Linked DNA regions of Homo sapiens: region 1 is linked to region 2. Evidence: promoter capture Hi-C in human tissues and cell types (Jung and others, 2019). All regions are on one chromosome and are shown on one strand. The core of a region is centred on a gene start or on the middle of the fragment in contact, and the rest is flanking DNA. Distances in the headings are between cores, read along the strand shown. Region 1 overlaps NCOA1 (nuclear receptor coactivator 1). Region 2 holds the start of PFN4 (profilin family member 4).

Region 1 (6,635 bases), core at 2,625-5,124, 590 kb before region 2:
CTTGAACTCCTGACCTCAAGTGATCTGCCTGCCTCAGCCTCCCAAAATGTTGGGATTACAGGTGTGAGCCACCGCGCCCACCCAGTTTGGGGCTATTTTGAATAAAACTGTATGGATATTTGTAGTCAAGTATCTTTATGGACGTGGACTTTCATTTCTCTTGGTTAAATACCTAAAAGTTGAACTGTTGGGTTACATGGTAAATGTATGATTAACTTTATGAGAAATTGCTGAACAATGTTCCAAATTTGCTATACCACTTTACATGCCATTAGCAATGTAAAAGTTCAAATTGTTCCACACCCTTGCCATCACTTGCCATCACTTGGTATGGTCAGTTTTTAAAATTTTGGGCATTCTAATGGGTATGCAGTGGTATTGCACTGTAGTTTTAATTTGCATTTCCTTGATGATTAAAGATGTTAAGTATCTTGGCCGGGAGCAGTGGGTCACACCTGTAATCCTGGCACTTTGGGAAGCCAAGGCGGGTGGATCACTTGAGGCCAGAAGTTCTAGACCAGCCTGGCCAAAATGGAGAAACCCCATCTCTACTGAAAATACAAAAAAAATTATCCAGGCATAGTGGTGCACACCTGTAATCCCAGCTACTTGGAAGGCTGAGGCACGAGAATTGCTTGAACTTGAGAGGCAGAGGTTGTAGCGAGCGGCAATCATGCCATTGCACTCCAGCCTAGGCAACAGAGAGACTCAAAAAAAAAAAAAAAAAGATATTAACCATCTTTTCACATGCTGATTTGCCATTTTCATATCTTCCTTTGTGAAATATCTTTTAAAATCCTTTGCCCAGTGTTTAGATTGGACAGTTTTTCCTACTATTGCATTAGTGTGGTACATTTGTTAGAACTGATAAGCCAATATTGACACATTAGTATTAACTAAAGTCCACAGTTTACATTAGAGTTCACTCTTTGTGTTGTACATTCTGTGGATTTTGATATTTTGACCAATACAGAATGACAGGATAGATACATGTCATTGCATACACATGATTTATATATATATATGTGTATATGTCTATGTACATTTATTTATACATGATATGAACACAGGGGATTTTTAGGTATGATACTTATCACATAAAATCCCCTGTGTTCTCCTTATTCATCCTTGCCTTTGGCAACCACTGACAACAAACCCCTGGCAACTCCTGATCTTTTGACTGTCTCCACAGCTTTGCCTTTTCCAGAATACGGCTGGAATTATACAGGATGTGTAGCCTTTTCAGATTGGCTTCTTCTCAGCAATGTCTTTTCATGGCTTGATCGCTTCCAAGTTTTGGCAATTATGGATAAAGCTGCCATAAACATTCATGTGCAGGTTTTTGTGTGAACATAAGTTTTCAACTCATTTGGGTAAATATCAAGGAGTGTGATTGCTGGATCATATGGTAAGAGTATGTTTAGTTTTGTAAGAAACTGCCAAAATGTCTTCCAAAGTGGCTGTACCATTTTGTATTCTCACCAGCAACGAGAGTTCCTGTTGCTCTACATCCTCGCCAGCATATTGTTGTTTTAATTTGCAATTTTCTAATGACATATGAGTTGGGCATCATTTCATATGCTTATTTACCATCTGTATATCTTCTTTGGTGAGGTGTCTGTTCAGATCTTTTGCCCATTTTTAAATTGAGTTGCTTGTTTTCTCATTGTTTCATTTTAAGAGTTCTTTGTTTATTTTGGGTATCACTCCTTTATATCAGATATGTGTTTTACAATATGAGTTAGGAAATATTTTCTTTGCTTCTATTTTTTGGAAGAGATTAGAGAGAATATAATTTCTTCCTTAAATGTTTGGTAGAATTACAAGTGAACCCATCTGGGTTTAGCCTAGTGATTTCTGTTTTGAAAGGTTATTGATTATTGATTCATTTTCTTTCAAGAGGTGGTCTTTAAAGAGCAGAAGATTTAACATTTAACGAAGTCTAATGTATCAATCTTTTTCTTTCATGATTAGCACTTTTTGTGTCCTATCAAAAATGTGTCTATCTCAATGACTTTTTTTTGTTGAAAAGCTTTATAGTTTTAACTTTTATATTTAAGCCTATGATCAACTCAAAATAAGTTCATTTTTTTGTGTATGGGATGAGGAGAGAGGTTGAGGTTCATTTTTTTCTACATAGATGTTCAGTTGTTATATCACCATGTATTGAAATGACTATTCTTTGTTTAATTACCTTGGTGTCTTTGTTGAATGTCAATTCGCCATATAAATGTGGGTCTGTTTCTGGACTCTCCATTATTTTGCATTGATCTATATGTCTATTTTTATTCCAAAACCACACCATCTTGATGACTGGTGCTTTATAGAAGTATTAAAATCAAGCAGTATAAATACTCCCAAGTTTTCTTTTTTTTTTTTTTAAGTGGTTTTTGTTATTTCAGGACCTTTGCATTCTCATATACACTTTAGAAAAAGCTTGTCAAATTTTACTAAAATGCCTGCTCAGATTTTTTTTTTTTTTTTTTTTTGAGACGGAGTCTCACTCTGTCACCCAGGCTGGAGTGCAGTGGCGCAATCTCGGCTCACTGCAATCTCCGCCTCCTGGGTTCACACCATTCTCCTGCCTCAGCCTCCCGAGTAGCTAGGACTACAGGCACCTGCCACCACGCCCGGCTAATTTTTTGTATTTTTTTAGTAGAGACGGGGTTTCACCATGTTAACCAGGATGGTCTCGATCTCCTGACCTTGTGATCCGCCTGCCTCGGCCTCCCAAAGTGCTGGGATTACAGGCGTGAGCCACTGCGCCCGGCCGCCTGCTGGGATTGTTATTGGGATTACATTAAATTTACATGGGTTGATTTTGGAATAACTGATATCTTGACAAAATTGTGTCTTACAATCCATGAAAATGGTATCCCTCTCCATTTATTTGGCCCCCCTCTAATTTCTCTCAGCAAAGTAGTTTTCAGTGTAGAGTAATGCACATGTTATTCCATCTAAAATTTATGTCTTAATATTTTATGTATTTTGTAAATTGCTTTTTCTATATCATTATCCAATTGTATGTAACTGATATACAGAAATACAATTGATTTTTTAAAATACTGAGTACACATATTGTGACTTTGCTAAGTTCATTTAGTTCAAGTAGCTTTTCCTCTCACTTCTTTAGGATTTTCTACATGCAGGACACTTATAGAATATTTTTCTGTTAAAAAAATGCATTTTTAACTTTAGCCTCTAGCCTCAAATATTATACTATTTTGTAGAAAAGAGTATTGTCTCATTTATTCTACCCCATTTTTGGTACTATTACTGTCATACATTTTTCTTCTACATATTACATATATAATTCACTGTTATTATTTTTGCTTTAAACAGTTATTTTTCATTTAAAGAAACTAACAAATGAGAAAAAAGAATTTTCCATTTATTCATACCTTTACTTATCTGGCTCTCTTATTATTTTCTGTAGGTTAGAGTTTCCATCTGGATTCATTTTATTTTAGCTTGAACAATAGTGTAATCTGCTGGTGACAAATTTTCTCAGGGTGGTTTGTTTGAAAACATCTTTATTTCACCTGCATTTCTGAATGATACTGGATACAGAAAGTTAGTTGTTTTCTTATCTTTGTTCATCTTATATCATTTTCTATCTTTTTTCATCTCTGTGTCATTTTGAATGATACTAAGTATAGAAAGTTTTTTCTTGTTTATCTGACATAATGTGTCATTTTTCTTTGATTGGTTTTAAGATTTTTGTTTCAGCAATTTGATTATGACATGGCTTATAGTAGTTTTCTTTGTGTTTATTTTGCTTGGGATTCATTAAACTCTTGGATTTGTAGGTTTACAAATTTCCACAAATTTGTAAATATTTTGGCTGTTTTTTCAAAAATTTCACCTGCTCCCCCTTCTTCCATAATTATGTATTATTTATATATTATGTGTATACTAGACTGCTTTGTATTGTTCCACAGGTGACTGAGGTCTTTCAATACTTTTGTGGTATTCTTTTTCTCCTCTAATTTGAGTAGTTTCTAATACTATGTCATGTTTATTGCTCTTTTTTTCCTGCAGTGTCTAATCTGCTGGTAGGCTCCTCCAACAAATTTTTCATTTTAAATACTGTATTTTTCAGCTCTACCAGCTCTATTTGGCTCTTTTTTTTTGTAGTTTATATCTCTTCCCTCATTATGTTCATGTTGTCCCTTAAGTTCTTCAACATATTTAGAATAGCTATTTTCAAATCTTTTTCTATTACTTCTATCATCTCTGTCATTTCTGGATCTATTAACTGACTTTGTTTGGGTATGGGTCACAGTTTCTTGCTACATCATGTGTCTTAATTTTTTTTATTATATGTTGGAAATTATGAATATAATGCTGCTGAATGTCTGAATTTTGGTGTCTTCTTTAAAAACTATTGAATAGTGTTCTTTCAGACAGTTAATTTACTTGTACATAAGCTTGATCCTTTTGAGGTTTGTTTTTAAGATGTCAAAGCAGGTCTAGGGTAAATCCACTCTTAAAGTGAGGCCATTTTCCACTAAATGTCCCAGATGTTCAAGAAGGTCTACCGACTCTGATTGGTCAGGACTTGATTATCTTCCAATCTTGTGTGAGTTCTGGTAGTTGTTCAGCTCACTCCTTCCTGATAGTTGTTCTTCCTTCACAAACTGTTCTTTGCCCCACCTGATGGAGTATCGTTGAATACATGCACAGTGTAGTATTCAGCCAAGGATAGAAAAGAACCCTGATTCAGATTTTTGTTGCTATTTTCTACATATCCTTCTCTTCTCGGGTACTTTGTTCAGCAAGTTCTAGCTGCCCCACTGTCACTGAACTCCTATCACTATTTTCGGAGTTTAGTAAAATATCCGTGCTTATTTTGGGTTCCTCCTACCTGTACTTGGTTTGGTAAACATCTCCAAGAAAAAAGCTGAGATGATTGTAGAGCTCACCTGACTTGCTTCCTTCTCAGAGAGATCACAGTCTCACACTGCCTATTATCTATTGGCTTACAAGAATTGTTTAATGTATTTGCTCTTTTTCCCGTTATTTACAGTGGGAGGACTAGACCAGTGCCAATTATTGCTGTCATAGTTGAAAGTAGAAGTCCTTTTTCTCAAATCATAAATGTCTTCTAGTTCCAATATTACCTTTGAAAATTCCTGATTCACTGTATGGAATTAACTTCTCTCTGAAAGGTTTTAGAATCTTTTCTTTATCTCTCATGTTCCAGAATGATATGATGACAAGCTTTGGTACAAGTACTTTTTTTTTCCATTTGTGTTGGGTACTTGTTGAAACACTGTAATCTGGGGAATCAGAAAATTCTCTTATATTTTTTGATGTTTCCCACCCTTGTTTGTGTAATTCTTTTATTTTTTTAAATTAAATTTAATTTTTAAAATTAATTAATTAATTAATTATTTTTGAGATAGAGTTTTGCTCTTGTCGCCCAGGCTGGAGTGCAATGGCACGATCTCAGCTGACTGCAACCTCTGCCTCCTGGGTTCAGGTGATTCTCCTGCCTCAGCCTCCCAAGTAGCTGGGATTACAGGTGCCTGCCACCATGCCCAGCTAATTTTTGTATATTTTTGGTAGAGACAGGGTTTCACCATGTTGATCAAGCTGGTCTTGAACTCCTGACCTCAGGTGATCCGCTTGCCTCAGCCTCCCAAAGTGCACGATTACAGGCGTGAGCCACCGCACCTGGCCTGTTTGTGTAATTCTTAATCATTACTGGCCCTCTGAGGTGGACCTTGTAATTTCCTTAACTTTTTCTTCCCTACTTCCCATTTGTCTTTCTGGGAGCATCTTTTTGTTCTTTCTGGAAGCTTTTCTCAGCTGTATCATCTTACATTTCCCTCATTAAAAAAAAAAGTTGGATACCTAATTTCCAAGAGTTTTTTCTGTTCTTTGTCCCTTTTTTTCCCTTTCCATATTTTCAGGGGTAATACATTTTTATCTTTCTAAAATTTCTAGTAGTTTTTTTCTTTTTTGGTTTATGCATTCATTATATATTTCCACTGCATACTTTTTCTGTTTATTTCTTTTTCTCCCTTTCAAGTTGCAGAGTTTCCTCCAAGTACTGATGATTCTTGACTGTGTCTGTTCAGTCAGTGTTCTTAAACATGGACTGGGAGGGCTGAGTGCCAGGCTTGTCTCTTCTGGGAGCCTTCATTGTTGGATGATGAGATAGCAGAATGGCTTTTGTACTTATATACTCACATCCAGACATCTTTCCGCCCATTCAATGTCCCCTGAGAAAATTCTTCCAGTCTCCCATATTGGATGGGGAAGGAGATAAAGACCTCCAAATCAATCAATATGCAGACTTTCATTTTATCTCTTTTCAGCCTTGCATCTTACTGTTTCCTCAATTGTGACTGACATTCCAGTCTAGAGCCTCACTGCTTCTATTAGAAGAAACTTTCAAAATCATTTAATCTAATTCTTATATTGCAGATAAAGAGAATAAGGTTCAAAAAATGTACTTCCTTGAGGTAAGACTGTTAATGACTGGAGAATGTGAGATTTGAATCTAGGCTTCTGACTCTTCCTCTAATACTCTGGTCAGCTAAAATACTGCCTCCAAAAATGTCACAGATGGATTCAAGATTATTCTTCGCAGCTGTCTGAAATCCTGGCAAACTATCAGTAATTGG
Region 2 (5,928 bases), core at 2,722-5,221:
AATATTATTTGGTCATCAAAAGGAATAAAGTACTGCTTATGCTCTGACACGGACAAACCTTGAAAACATTATACTAAGTGAAAGCAGTCACTAAGGACCACATATTGTATGATACCATTTGTATAAAATGTCCAGAGTAGACAAATCTGTTTAGACAGGAAGTAGATCAGTGTTGCCAGGAGCCAGAGAGGGAGGGGAATGGGGGGTGACTGCTAAAAGGTGTGAAGTTTCTTTTTGGGGGTGATGAAATGTTCTGGAATTAGATAGTGGTGACAGTTGCACGGATTTGTGAATATACTAAAAAACACTGAAAATAAAAATTCTGAATTTAAAAAAAAATAAAAAACACTGAATTGTACACTTTAGAGTAGTGAATCTTGGCCGGGCGCCCGGTGGCTCACGCCTGTAATCCCAGCACTTTGGGAGGCCGAGGCGGGCAGATCATGAAGTCAGGAGATCGAGACCATCCTGGCTAACGTGGTGAAACCCCTCTCTACTTTTTTTTTGTAAAAATACAAAAACAAAAATTAGCCAGGTGTGGTGGCAGGCACCTGTAGTCCCAGCTACTTGGGAGGCTGAGGCAGGAGAATGGCGTGAACCGGGGAGGCAGAGTTTGCAGTGAGCTGAGATCACGCCACTGCGTTCCAGTCTGGGCGACAGAGCAAGACTCTGTCTCAAAAAAAAAAAAAAAAGTAGTGAATCTTATGGCATGTAAATTATATCTCAATAGGAAGAGTCCAACAGTAAGAATACAAACAACCCAACTTAAAATTGCCAATTTTAAAGTGGGCAAAAGATTTGAACAAACACTTTGCCAAAGAAGATAGATAAATGGCAAGTAAGACTTGAAAAGATGCTCATAATCAGTCATTAAGGAAATGCAAATTAAAACCACAATGAGATGTCACTATACATCTTTTTAAAATGTCTTGAGTTAAAAAGGCCATACAATAAATCAGTATAAATAAAACTATTCCAAATGTTGGCTAGATTATGAAACAACTGGAACTCTCACACACTACTAGTGGGAATGTAAAATAATTCAATGACTTTGGAAACTAGTTTGGCAGCTTCATAAAGTTAAATTCATTTACCATATGACCCAGTCACTCCACAACTAAATATCTACCCAAGAGAAATGAAAGCATACGTCCATACAAAGACACACACATGAATGTTCATAACAGCTTTATTTGTAATAGCCCCAAACTGGAATCAACCCAAATGTCCATAAACAGGATGAACAAATTGGGATATATCCAGATAAGGGAATAGCATTCAACCAAAAAAGGAATGAAGTATTGATACATACAACATGGGTGAGTGGCAAAATAATTATGATGAGTGAAAGAAGACAAACAGAAGGAAAAGAAATATATACTGTAAGATTCCATTTGTATACAATTTTTAAAATGCAAACTAGAGTGACAGAAAGCAAAGCAGGCTGGGCGCAGTGGCTCACACCTATAATCTCAGCACTTTGGGAGGCCGAGGCGGGCAGATCACTTGAGGTCAGGAGTTTGAGACCAGCCTGGCCAACATGGTGAAACCCCGTCTCTACTAAAAATCCAAAAAAATTAGCCAGGTGTGGTGGCGCAGGCCTGTAATCCTAGCTACTCAGGAGGCTGAGGTAGGAGGATCACTTGAACCCGGGAGGTAGAGGTTGCATTGAGCCGAGATCACGCCAGTGTTTTCCTGGCTGAGTGATAGAGCGAAAGAAAGAAAAGAAAAAGAAAAGGAAAGAGAGAGAAAGAATGAAAGAAAGAGAAAGAAAGAAAAGCAGTGGTGGGGGGATGTGAGGGAGGGATTACAACAGAATATTAAGGAAGCTTTGGGAGTACTGAATATGTCCACCATCTTGATTGTGGTGATGTTTTCGTGTGTATACATGTCAAAACTTACCAAGTTTGTACACTTTATTTGAGACAGGGTCTTATTCTGTCACCCAGGTGGGGATGCAGTGGCACAATCACAGCTCACTGCAGCCTCAAATTCCTGGGGTCAAGCAATCCTCCTGCCTCAGCCTCTCAAGCAGCTGGGACTATAGGTGTATGCTACCACACCTGGCTATTATTGTTCGTTCGTTTGTGGAGACAGGGTCTCAGTATATTGCTCTGCCTGGTCTAGATAGAACTCCTGGGCTCAAGCGACCCTCCCACCTCAGCCTCCCAACGTGCTGGGATTACAGGCATGAGGCACAGTGCCAGACACACACTTTAAATATATGCAGTTTACTGTATATCAATTACATCTTAATAAAGCTGTTTAGAAAAAAGAAACTACAATCTAAAAACAATATAACTGGCTGGGCGCAAGGGCTCACAGCTATAATCCCAGCATTTTGGAACACCACGGTAGGTGGATTGCTTGAGCTCAGGAGTTGGGGACCAGCCTAGGCGACACAGTGTAGAGATTTTTTGTATCTCTACAGAAAATACAAAAATTAGCCAGACATGGTGGCGTGCGCCTATACTTCCAGCTACTAGGGAGTGGAAGGATGGCTTGATTCCAGGAGGAAACATAGCAAGACCCTGTCTCAAATATAAATAAATAAATAAATACATCATATCAAAATTTGGGTGATGCAGCTAAGGCAGTACCTCAAGAGAAACTTATAGCTATGTTACATTTTAAAAGGTATATAATCAATGACCTATGATTCCACCTTAAGATGTTAGAAAAAAACAGCAAAGTGAATATACAAAGTTAGTAAAGTGAAGGGAATAATAAACAGAATGAAATAAAAACAAACAATAGAAAAAACAATATATTTAGCACAAGCCACTTCCTACTGCAACGATCCAAGTAAAAAAATCTCCAAATCCCACACTATTTGATATATACCTCCATAAAACAAAGGGGCTTGGGCTCCAACCATTCTTTTGAGCTCTTGAGCTTGGGAAGTGTGCCAGTTACCAGATCATCACTGTCTACATTTTTCATTGTGGTCACAAATAACAATGCCCCTGGAAAAACTAAAAATCATCTTATTTAGTATTGAACATTTCACAGTCATCTGATTTTCTCTTCTGTTTAATACCACCTGTGTCCTTGCACACACGCAAAATGGATTTTGAACACTAACCATCCAGTTTCCCTAACAAGAGGCCTTCACTACAGACTCCAGATGACGGCTTCAGAGCCAGCCTCCTTTATAAGCAGGCGAGATGCTCTTTGAAAGAATCCCCCGTCCCTTGGAATGGATTCCCACGTCCCCCTCCAAGGCAGCCCATTCCAGCCAGTGTGGCAGCTTCAGCCTGGCCTCTCGGAGTCCCATTTGCAACACTTTTCTGACTTTGGTGGCCTCGAGTGGGAAGAACTGCAACTTTCTGGCCACAGAAACACAGGCTGAGCTGCTTAGAGAAGGCAGGGAGGGGCTTTCGGTCATACTGCGCGAGTCTTCGAGCTCTGAGCGGCTCGAAGTCCTCCCCGAGGCACGGGTGCGACGGGGATGTCGTAGGCGTCCGCACCCGCTCTCGCTCATCGCGCCCACTCCCGGCCCTTCCTCCCACCCACTAGGCCGGGCGCCTGCGGCCTCCACGCCAGCCCCGGGCCGGGGGCCTCCCGCGCAGGCGCGTCGTGCGCGGGGACCGCCCGGCCTGGCGGGGAGGTCGCCGGCCGCGACAGGCACCTCTCTGCCCTCCCAAGGCCAGCAGGCCCGCGGCCGTCCTGCTACACACTCGGGCCCGGCCCGACGACCCCGGAGCCGTCCGACTGCGGCTGGAAGGGAGCCCGCCCGCGTCTGCGGAACGCGCGAATGTTGGCGCCCACCGTCTCCCGGACGCAGCGCCGCGCGAGCACTCCGCCCCCTGCGCCGCGGGTTCCACAGCGAGTCCGCGCGGGCGGTGCCGGGGCGGCGGAGGACGGCTTCAGGCCCAAAGGGGATTGGGCGGCGGCTCTAGGTGGCGGGTCTTGGTTTGCGGAAGGGGCTGGAGTCGCTGCTTCTCGGTGACCGGCGCGTGGCCCGGCCAATCCTGCCGCCGCCACCCACCCGCAACCGCGTCCGTTGACGGTCGGGTCCTTGGTCGCCGGGTCCTTGCGGGCACCACAGAGCGGGGTGGCGTCCGCTCCCTCGAGTCCTCGGTGCCAGGGAATTCACCGCTCACCACCCCCTGCCCCGCCTTGGGTCCTGCTCGGGGACCAAACCACTGGAAGGCAGTGGCGGGAAACGGGCGCCTGTGCCGGAGGTCCTGATGAGGGGGGTCCAAGGCTTGGGGACTTGTGCGGGAAATGTGGGTTTAAGTGCCTTCAAGGTGTTTTTAGTCCATTGGGATGTTGATCAGCGTTCATAGCTGGCGCTGATGCAGGTCACCGGGAAGGGAATGTGTGGGTTTATGGCCACGCATAATCTCTTTTAGTCGTGTTTAACTTAGCAGGGTAGCTCTCCATCCTGGCTGGGTTTTGTTTTTTGTTTTTATTTTTTATTTTACAGAGTTTTTCTCAGTGTGTAATGTTTGTTTTTAAATCGCAGATAATCCTGATGTAAACCATTGACATAGCCAGAAAATCACCAGGCTGTGATTTTCCAAACTCAGCTTCATAACCTATTCTGTGTGAGCTGTGATTTTTCTATGATTCTGTTTTCCTCTTTGGGTACTGGTGGGCCCTGAATGATGGACCACCGTTTTCACCCTGTACCTTTTCAAAGTACACTTGCTGATCTTAGAACTGTCTGCAGTGTCTTAAGGACATTTGTATTCACATGCCTTTTAAAAGCTAGCCAGAGTCAATGGCTTCAACTGCACTTTCCCTTTCAGAGTTGAGGGAACATGAGCCATTTGCAGAGCTTATTGTTAGACACCCTCTTGGGAACCAAGCATGTGGACAGTGCAGCCCTCATCAAAATCCAGGAGCGGAGCTTGTGTGTAGCATCACCAGGTTTCAATGTAAGAAAAAACAAGTTTGGACCTAAGACTTGATTTACTTATTATTTCTATTCTTCCAAAAAATGAAGCAGACATGACTTTTTTTTTTTTTTGAGACGGAATTTCACTCTTGTTGCTTAGCCTGGGATGCAATGGCATGATCTCAGCTCACTGCAACCTCCGCCTCTCAAGCGATTCTTGAGCCTTAGCCTCCCGAGTAGCTGGGATTACAGGAGTGCGCTACCAGGCCCGGCTAATTTTTGTATTTTTAGTAGAGATGGTGTTTTACCATGTTGGTCAGGCTAGTCTCAAACTCCTAACCTCAGGTGATCCACCTGCCTCGGCCTCCCAAAGTGCTGGGATTACAGGCATGAGCCACCGTGCCCAGCCCAGACATGACTTTTAAATGAACTTTTTCTGTAAAGAGCTACATAAATATTTTAGGTTTCTAGGCTTAGTCTTTTTACTGTTGATATAAAGGAATACCTGAAGCTGGGTAATTTATAAAGAAAAGAGGTTTATTTGGCTCACAGTTCTACTGCCTGGAAGACTGGTCATCTGTGAAAGCCTCAGGCTGCTTCCACTCATGGCAGAGGTGAAGGGGAGCCAGCATGTGCAGAGATCACAGTGGGGGAGAGGAAGCAAGAGAGAGCAAGTGGAGAGGTGCCAGGCTCTTTCTAAGAGCCAGCTCTCCTGGAACAAATACAGTGAAAACTCACAGCTTCCCCCAGCTCGCAGGGAGGGCATCAGTCTATTCATGATCCAAATACCTCCCATTAGGCCCCACCGAAAACGCTGGGAATCAGATTTCAACATGAGATTCAAACTATAGCACAGGGCCGTAGAGTCTCTGTCACAACCACTCAACTCTGCAATTGTAGAGGAAAAACAGCCATACATAAAAGAATGAATGTGACTGTGTTCCAATAAAATTTTATATTTATGGATACTGAAGTTTGAATTTCATATAATTTGTAAGTGTCACGAAGTGTTATTCTTTTGATTTTTTTTCCCCAACCATTTAAAAACATGAAAACCATTCTTAGCTTGCAGGCCATAAAAA

The links. Contacts are between HindIII fragments. The study calls those that stand out against the background at their distance.
Region 1: a contact is called between a fragment that was not itself captured here and the fragment with the promoter of PFN4 in region 2, in 1 of the 25 tissues and cell types used here (hippocampus).

What each region holds. Positions count from the first base shown.
Region 1 is chr2:24,711,998-24,718,632 of GRCh38, reverse strand. The region is part of intron 14 of NCOA1 (nuclear receptor coactivator 1); the gene reads right to left. Among named protein-coding and RNA genes, the nearest start is that of PTRHD1, 78 kb to the left of the region's middle. The HindIII fragment of the contact is 3,280 bases long and covers 2,235-5,514 here.
Region 2 is chr2:24,121,377-24,127,304 of GRCh38, reverse strand. PFN4 (profilin family member 4) reads left to right here and starts at 3,971. Exons shown (of 5, transcript NM_199346.3): 1 at 3,971-4,187; 2 at 4,758-4,886. The coding sequence starts at 4,770. FAM228B (family with sequence similarity 228 member B) reads right to left here and starts at 3,836. Exons shown (of 11, transcript NM_001145710.2): 1 at 3,772-3,836; 2 at 2,845-2,975. The coding sequence starts at 2,943. RefSeq lists an enhancer at 3,085-3,334 and a silencer at 3,405-3,904. The HindIII fragment of the contact is 15,112 bases long and covers 1-5,928 here.